Linked DNA regions of Homo sapiens: all the other regions are linked to region 3. Evidence: promoter capture Hi-C in 16 types of primary human blood cells and fetal thymus (Javierre and others, 2016). All regions are on one chromosome and are shown on one strand. The core of a region is centred on a gene start or on the middle of the fragment in contact, and the rest is flanking DNA. Distances in the headings are between cores, read along the strand shown. Region 1 has its middle 18 kb from the start of LIN28A. Region 2 overlaps DHDDS (dehydrodolichyl diphosphate synthase subunit). Region 3 holds the start of PDIK1L (PDLIM1 interacting kinase 1 like).

Region 1 (2,700 bases), core at 118-2,617, 280 kb after region 3:
TTCTCTGTTCATCCCTCTAAAGGAACCTTGATCTTCTCTGCTTCAAGGTCTGTATAAATTGTTCCCTCTGCCTGAAACACACTCTCAACACATGCACACACATACAAACGCCCCCCCTTTACCTCTTTTTCACATTTTCTTTGGTCAAGATTTAGGCATCTGTTAAGTCTCTGTTTCAAAATCAGTTTCTGAGGAAAGCTTTTTTCTGATCTCCTTTCCCTTAAATTAAATCACTATAACTATTTGTTCACTGTAATCCTGCCCTGCTGGTGCCACAAGGCCTGGAACCTCATTTGTCTGTGTATCTATCTTGTTCATGCCTGTATTTTTCCAGTCTGTGGCATGGTGTCTGGCACATAGTGGCACTCAAACAACGTTTCAATGTATGAATGAATGAATGAACAACGGAACTTAGTGATGGTGGATGAGGAAAGGGGTCATGTGGGGTAAGGGTGTCCCCTGCTGGACATTGAGAGTACCCAGGGCATCCTCTCTGAGCTGGGAAGAATGACTCTCGGTCATAAATTTCCTCCCTGAGGGGCAGAGTTGGGGAACCTCACCTTATGCCCAGACTGCTGATGCATGCCTTCTTCTTACCTCTATCAGCCCCCACACCACTGTCCTCCCAGCCTTCAGAGCATCCGTCCCCACCCCCAGTGGCCTGACCCACCCTCCCCCACGCTGCAGACCACATCAGCAAGGCTGTGGAGCGCCACAGCGATTTCTGCATCCTCTCCACAATGAATATCCACCCCCTCTTAAACCTTTTGCTTTGAATAAGAATAGGCCCAGAGTCCTCCATCGATCCTCTTTCCCCCTCCTCCCAAATCAATCAATCAGTAGTGATTGGCTGGGACACTGGGGTGGAGGTGGACGAGGACTGGTGGGTGAAGAGCAAGGAAAGTTGGTGGGGTGGTGGTGGGGTAGGTGAGTGTGTTTCTGAAACAGGATCCCGCTAAAAGTATGGCAGAACAGTGGATTTCTCTGGAGGAGAATAGTTGGTGAGAAGATACCTGGGATGAGGTATTTAGAAAAAGGTGAATGAGAAATTCCTGACTACTGTCTTTTTTTTTTTTTTTTTTTGAGATGTAGTCTTGCTCTTGTTGCCAAGGCTAGAGTGCAATGGGGCAATCTTGGCTCACTGCCACCTCCACCTCCCGGGCTCAAGTGATTCTCCTGCCTCAGTCTCCCAAATAGCTGGGATTACAGGTGCCTGCCACCAAGCCTGGCAAATTTTTTGTATTTTTAGTAGAGATGGGGTTTCACCATGGTAGCCAGACTGGTCTCGAACTCCTGACCTCTGGTGATCCACCTGCCTCCGCCTCCCAAAGTGCTGGAATTATAGGAGTGAGCCACCGCACCCGGCCTCTGACTACTGTCTTGGCTGACAAAAGGGTAAAATACCTCCAGTTTATATAAAGTGTGAGCACAATGGGAGGAGGGGGTTCATAAAAGATTGGACTAAGAGGAACATGGTGAGGAGCACGGGGGTTCTGTGAGGGGAGTCAGGGCTCAGTGCTAAGGACATGGAGGAGTAGAGAGGGCAGGAGGAAGCCTCTTGGCCGAGGGTAAAAAGAAGTGGGTGGGGGTCAAAGAGAGATAGAGGTCACTTCTCTTCCAGTGAGGATGGGAAGAACCAGACCACACCTGTGACTCTCCATATAGTTCCCATCCCTGGCCCCTCCCCCAGCCATGCCCCAAAATGGGGCTGGGGAAGAGTGACAGTTACTTAATGACTCTGAGTCCCACTAGCTCTTCTGGGCAGCCTATGGTCACTGGGGGGCCAAAGGGGACTGAAGCCAAAGTCCAAGTTATTGATCTCTGGCCCCAAAGGTCAGCTTCAGGGGCAGAGGGAGTGGTGTTGCCATGGTGGGAGACTCGAGGGACCCCACAACAGAGGGGCTGTGCTGCAGCCCAGTTTTCACGTCTGCATCCTTAGTGCCCCATGATCCTATACACACACACACACACACACACTCCCACACCCCTCTATCCTGTCTTGCTTGAAATTTCTGCCTGATGGGATGTCTCAGAATAGACTCTTGGGTGTCTAGCCTTTGGGGTGTCTAGGGAGTATAAAAGGAGAGCCTTAGATGGAATTATTTATTTACTACTACCCCCGTCCCCAAGACAAAGCCCTGGGAGTCCATGAACTCTTTGGTGAATCCCATTAAAAAAAACACCAATCTGGTTGTCAGGAAGAAAGGATGGCAACAATTTTTGCTGTGTAGCCTTGACAAAGCATTTACCTTCTATGAGTCTTAGTTCCCTTATCTATAAATGAAGGGATTGAATCAGATGAGCTCTAAGTTCCTTTCCGGATAAGTGACCTAAGATTCTGAGGAATTAGAGGGGACAGGCCTGACAGCAGGGGTTAGGAGTAAGAACTAGGTTAGGTTCGGGAGATGGTAAAAACAAATTCTTGGACTTGGAAATAAAATCTGCATTCTAATTTTGGCCATTATTAACTGTGGAAACTGGGGCAAGTCATGCATTTATTAATTCAACAAACATTTAATAAGCAATTACGTTATCCCAAGCTTTGTGCTGCATACTGACACAATGAACAAAACATAGTCCCTGGCTTATGGGGTTTACATTGTAGTGGTCAGTGGGAAAGAAAGACAAATAAGCAAATATATATAATACAGTGGGACAAATGCTCTGTCACAGATGTGTAGAGCACTATAAAAAATGGGA
Region 2 (2,700 bases), core at 25-2,524, 350 kb after region 3:
TAAAATCTGAGCTGCTCTGTCTCTAGGCCCTGCCCAATGTGTCCCTATTCTCTGCAGGAAGCCAGGGCAAGGGGCTAGGCTCTGGACCTAGAGTAGCTTACTGAGAGGAAGGCAGCGGGTGGATCGTAAGGGAAGCAGGGACTTGGCTACAAGTTGTGGGGAGCCAGACCTTGGTATCTGAATGGACCATGACAGTCTCCAGGTGGTCACCTAGCCAGTCTTAAAGGCTGGCAAAGGGAGATCTTGACTATGATGCAGTAGGACTTGTCAGCAAAGAGGCAGGGACAAATAGAGAATCAGGCCAGGGAGGGGGTGTGCGGCAGTGCAGAGCAGCTGATCCTCAATCACAAGTTGCATGGATGGTAGGTCCTTGAGAGGTCACTGATGGAGATGAGTAAAAAGTGTTCACCTCATCTCCAAGGATGATATTAGAGAGGGAAAAGACACATGTTCCCACGAAGCTTCCTGTAGTACATTTGTCACAATTTAAACGGGCTGGATTGAACATTATATTTCTTCTGCTCTTCAGGTTGTCACTATCTTCTCCTCAGGATAAAAGCTTGAGTTATGTATGTATGCATATATGTATGCATGTGGAAATGGGGTCTCGCCATGTTGCCCAGGCTGGTCTTGAGCAGCTGGGCTCAAGCGAGCCTCCCACCTTAGCCTAAAAGCTTGAGTTAATGTCTCAGACATTCATGACTTTGAATATTGGCACTGCCTACATAGCTATATGACTGTACAGTTACTTAACCCCTCAGAGTATCATTTTCCTCACCTGTAAAATGAGAGAAGTAGCGTTTACAGTAATACCTACCTTGCAGGTTTGTGATAGGGATTCAGTAAGCTAACACATGTCAAGTGCTGAGTGCAGTGGCTGGAACAGAGTTCATTTTCCAAGAATGGTGGCCAATATTGTTCCCCACATGTGTGTCTCTTGGCCTCTCCTCAGACTCCTCTCTGGAAAAGCACCCTGCACATCCTGTCCCCAGTACAACTCCCCAGGCAAGGAGACTCTGAGGGTGCTTCAGAACATCATGTTTCTGGTAGGAGGTGCCCTTCTCTGCCTGAGAGCAGCCCTCAGAAATGCATTCCTCATGCTGCTGACCTGGGCTGGCTGGTTGCAGCTTGGGGAAGGACTTTTCATTGGCTAATGTTTTGAAGCCAAGGACCTGCAGCCTCTCTCCAGGTGCCAACAGAGTGGTAGAGGACTTTTAGATTTAAGTACTGGAGGGACTATTACATCTTGTTCTCTGATTCTACCAAGGAGAGAATAAGAGCAGAGAGGGATAATGCCCAGGAGGAATTTAGATTCATAGGTTAGAACCACATTTCTCAAAGTGAGCTTCTTGGAGCCCTTGCACCAAGATTGGATAAGGTCTGTACAAAAAGTCTCTAAGGAAAGAATTAACGCCCTCACTTACCCTGATTGGTCATTATACAAGGATAGTAGACAAATGGTCAGGGAGAGAAAAGTTGACCTCTAGGACTTCTGTTAGCTTGGATTTCCCAAGGGTAAGTACTTGAGAAGAACTGGAAACACCTCTGAGATTGAAAGGGTAGATTCAGACCATGTGGAAGCTGGATAGACAGGTATCCAGATACAGGCCACCAGCTTTTCCACCCCTAGAAAGTAGAGCTTATACACAGGCACGAGATACACTTCACATTGTCCTCTCAAGAAGTTATCTTAGTGGAGAAGCCAAGGGAACTTCAGCCATCTCAGCCTCGCTGTCATTTTCTGTAAAATGACGAGCAGACACCCTCCCAACTCTGCTATCTGAACAATGAACTGCTAATTCCTGGCAGACAGGGGCCAGGCTCTGCCTGGGCTACAGCCCCCATTGCTGGCATGCACTCTGATGCCATCTGGAAGAAGCTTGCGCCTCATGAAGTGGCTTTAGCTAGCTCCATATTTCCTCCCTCTGTTGCTGAGCGTCCCCCATCCTTTCTGTTCTGCCAGAAACTTAGACTACTTAGCCCAGTCCACAAGTGGCGGTGATAGAACAGCTAACAGTTAATAGCCAAGCAGTAGGCTGAAAATTCATTATCTCATTTTTCCTCAAACAACCCAGTGAGGTGGGTACTCTTATCCCGGTTTTGCAGAGTAAGAGAGAGCCTTAGAGAGGTGAGGGAGGCCTTAGGAACTTCTCAAACCCCAGTGCTCCAGGTGGACTTACTCTGGCCTTAACAGGCTCTTCGGTTCCATGCATCTTTGCTCATTACTCCCACTGCCAGAATATTCTCCCTGCCCCCCACACACCTCACCTCTGTTTGAATCCTCCTCATTGGTTAAAGGGCCAGCTCAAATTCTGTCTGTCCATGAAGGTCACTGCTCCGTGATGTTCATCAGCCACACTTGCTTTCTCCTCTGAACTGCATGACCCTTACCACATCCTATTTTGCATCGTGGCACTCTGTGTGCATGGCTGTACAATCAGCCTGTAAGCACCTGGATTGCTGGGATCGTGTCCTGCGCATCTCCATATCCTCAAAAAAAATCCTGTATGTAGCACCCAGGGAGCCTCCTGACCAAGGCCTGGAAGAAGCCCTTCCAGCAAGACGGAGAGCTCTACGGCAACTGTTCAAGCCCGAAGTCCTCATAGCTCCACATGTAATTCATTGTAATAGCAGAAGAGAAGTATTCTTGAATGCCTGGGATTATTCAGGAGCCGGGGGGGACAGTCCAGAATTCTCATT
Region 3 (2,700 bases), core at 165-2,664:
AGGAATGGGTATTCAAGGTAGACACATCCCAAAACAGACACTTCAGTGAGAAGAGGCAGAGGTGTTTCCTCACCTGTAAAAACAGGATAATAAAACCTACTCTTGTGGGGTTTGGTTAGGATTAAGCAAGATCATTTATATAAAGACCTAACCCAGTGCCAGACTCTCGGGAGAAGGGGCATAAAGGACAGAAAATAAAATGAGTTGATCTTTGAGCACAGCGACAGGGATTTTTTGTACATCGTGCCTTACAGAGCGAGCGCTGGGAGGAGGAATCATCACCCTGCTGAGAAGTAATGGGTGCAGAATAAATCGAGTAAGAAGGAATGGACTTTTCTGGCGGATGCTTACTGATCTAACAACTGGATGACTGAGGAATGCGGTCCTAAGTGACCCCGGGCTGGCTGTGGGGCCAACAGCGTGCGGGATCTGACTAACAGCGTGTGGCAGCCGAGCGACTGCAGCAGCGGCGGGGACCCCATTGACTGTCCAGCCCCGAGAGCGGCAGGAGCGCGGTGGATCCTGGCTCGGACCAAGGCCTCTCCCCTGCGCCGACTGCAGACCAACCCTCCACCAGGAGCCTCGCGGGGGGGCGCCGTGGGCACCGCAGCCAGGTGCAGGCGCCTCCGCGCCCTCACTCCCCACGCCGAGGAGGTGGCCCTGGCTCCCTGCGGCCGCAGCCGGGGAACAATGAGGCGCCGGCCTCTTTAAGGGAGATACCACCGCGCCGGCGGGGCAGGGGACGGCATCCTCCCAGATGATCGCACCCAGCCCCGCGCCGCCGCCGCCGCCGCCGTCTCCGCAACTGCACCGCCCGCAAACATGGCTCAGTGACTCGGAGAAAAGCTGCAGTCTCCCTCCCGGCGGGGCGGACGCCAGGCCTCCTTGGTCGGGCCGCACCTCCCCGCAGGCCCGCCAAAGAGCACCGCGCCCCGCAGGCACCCGAGACCCGCGCGGAAGATGCACCGGGCGTTCCACCCCAGCGAGCCCCGCACCCCAGCCCGCAGCTCGGTAGGTCGGAAGGGGGCGGGTAGAGGGAGGGGAGGCCGCGGCCGGGCGCGCGCAGCCCCAGGCCCGGACCTGCCGCTGCAGACGGTCCCCGGGGCCGCGGGCCCTGAGCGCCCGCTGCGGCTGGAGGGTGGCCGAGCCCCGGCGTGGCGTGGCCTCGCGGTTCCCGAGCCCGGCCACCCCTGCGGGGAGCAGCACCAGTGGTGCGCTCCGGAGCGCGCACACCTCCGACGACTCCCGGCTCTGCAAATCCTCGAGAGAGGGAGGAGGCGAGCGGAGCGCCGGCCGCGCGCCTCGTCGGTGGCGCGGAACGTCCCGGCTCGCGCTACGGAAAGCCGGAGGGGGGCGGGGCCGTCGGCGTAAGGGGGTGTGTCCGCGCGCACCACGGGGGCGCGCGCCGGCTGCTGACTGGAGGCGGCGGCAGCGGAGGCGCGAGCTGCCCGATAATGGCGGCCTGCAGAGCCCATGAGAGGGAGAAGCGGCAGCGTCTACCCTGAGGTAAATCTGGCCTTTCGGCGTGGCGGAGAGGTCTTGCTGCAGAGCCGATGGCCCTGCATGTGCCTCCCTCCCTGGGAGGCTTGTCACAGACGTGTCAGCGGAGTCATCCTGGGGAAGGCCCTGCGCTCCTCAGGCCACCGACCCCAGTCGCGGCCTCCTCTCATACCGGGGCCACCTCCCCCCGGCCCTCAGCCCCCAGCCCCGAGGAGTTGAGGCAACTGCAGGGCTGGCTCCTCAGAGCGAAGGGGCTCAGGAGGCTCCCCTCCGGGCTTCATCTGAGCACGGCCGAGGAGGGGGAGGGCCTGACACTTGGCCAATGAGCGCGGCCTGAGCCGCCGCGTCGGGCAACACCTCTGGCCGCGACTGGCCCTTCCCGGGCGCCGGCAGGTGTCTGGCCTGGCCGGCTCGCGTCCCAGCGCCTGGTTAGAGCAGCGGGAGCGAGGGCCCGCCACTTTCGGTCGAAAGTCACTTAGGTTCGCATCGGATGCATCATTGGATCCGGGATCCCACGGGTTTCATAAACACCTCTCTCCTCCCTATTCAGGAAGGTGCTCTTCCCCATGGGGACTGTACCAGGCTGGAGAGGACATGGCACTGCTTCAGAGACACGAACCACCTTGAGTGGATGTGATTGGCGATCCCCGTAGAGCAGGAAAGCTCGTCTGCTGTGCAGCCGGCGCAGAGGATTCTGTGGCAGGAAATTAGACACTAGGAAATTCAGTAGCGATTTGAAGGGTGGGTGTCCAGTTAGAGGAAGTGGGACTGAACACAATCTCAGAAGTCATTTCTTTTTATTAAATCTATCCTGTAGACTTAAAGCAGTGGATCCCAACTTCTCAGGCTCTAGGGTCAGTAGCCTTTTGCTTCCCCAGCTGTACAGAATAAATATTGTACAATCTCAGGTTACTTTTCTAGCCCGTGGTCACAATCTACAAATGAGAATTCGTTCATGAAGTTGGTTATAATCTAGAAATTCTTTGGGCGCTGAGGAAGCCCACTTTAGACTTTCTCCATTCAACACATGAGCATTTCTGTGCAGGGCCTTTGCCCTCGCCTTTAAACCGTTCAGTAAGTTGAATTCCCAAGAACTCTGTCAGAGAGCCCCTTGATATGCAGGATCTTTGTTGGCAAAAATGACCTAGAACTAAATAGATATTGTTTACTCCAGCTGTCTTATGACTAGGAAAAAGGAAA

The links. Contacts are between HindIII fragments. The CHiCAGO score rates a contact against its expected background, and 5 or more counts as called.
Region 1: a fragment that was not itself captured here is called in contact with the fragment with the promoter of PDIK1L in region 3 in 9 of 17 cell types (M2 macrophages, M0 macrophages, M1 macrophages and 6 more); the score reaches 15.4 in M2 macrophages.
Region 2: a fragment that was not itself captured here is called in contact with the fragment with the promoter of PDIK1L in region 3 in 1 of 17 cell types (total B cells); the score reaches 5.6 in total B cells.

What each region holds. Positions count from the first base shown.
Region 1 is chr1:26,391,210-26,393,909 of GRCh38, forward strand. No RefSeq gene overlaps it. Among named protein-coding and RNA genes, the nearest start is that of LIN28A, 18 kb to the right of the region's middle. The HindIII fragment of the contact is 2,342 bases long and covers 197-2,538 here.
Region 2 is chr1:26,464,780-26,467,479 of GRCh38, forward strand. All of the region lies in intron 8 of DHDDS (dehydrodolichyl diphosphate synthase subunit), which reads left to right. It overlaps DHDDS-AS1 (DHDDS antisense RNA 1), which reads right to left. Exons shown (of 3, transcript NR_125953.1): 1 at 2,269-2,700. Among named protein-coding and RNA genes, the nearest start is that of DHDDS-AS1, 1.4 kb to the right of the region's middle. The HindIII fragment of the contact is 1,205 bases long and covers 673-1,877 here.
Region 3 is chr1:26,110,410-26,113,109 of GRCh38, forward strand. PDIK1L (PDLIM1 interacting kinase 1 like) reads left to right here and starts at 1,415. Exons shown (of 3, transcript NM_152835.5): 1 at 1,415-1,506. RefSeq lists silencers at 429-708, 769-1,408 and enhancers at 1,459-1,688, 2,069-2,178. The HindIII fragment of the contact is 5,419 bases long and covers 1-2,700 here.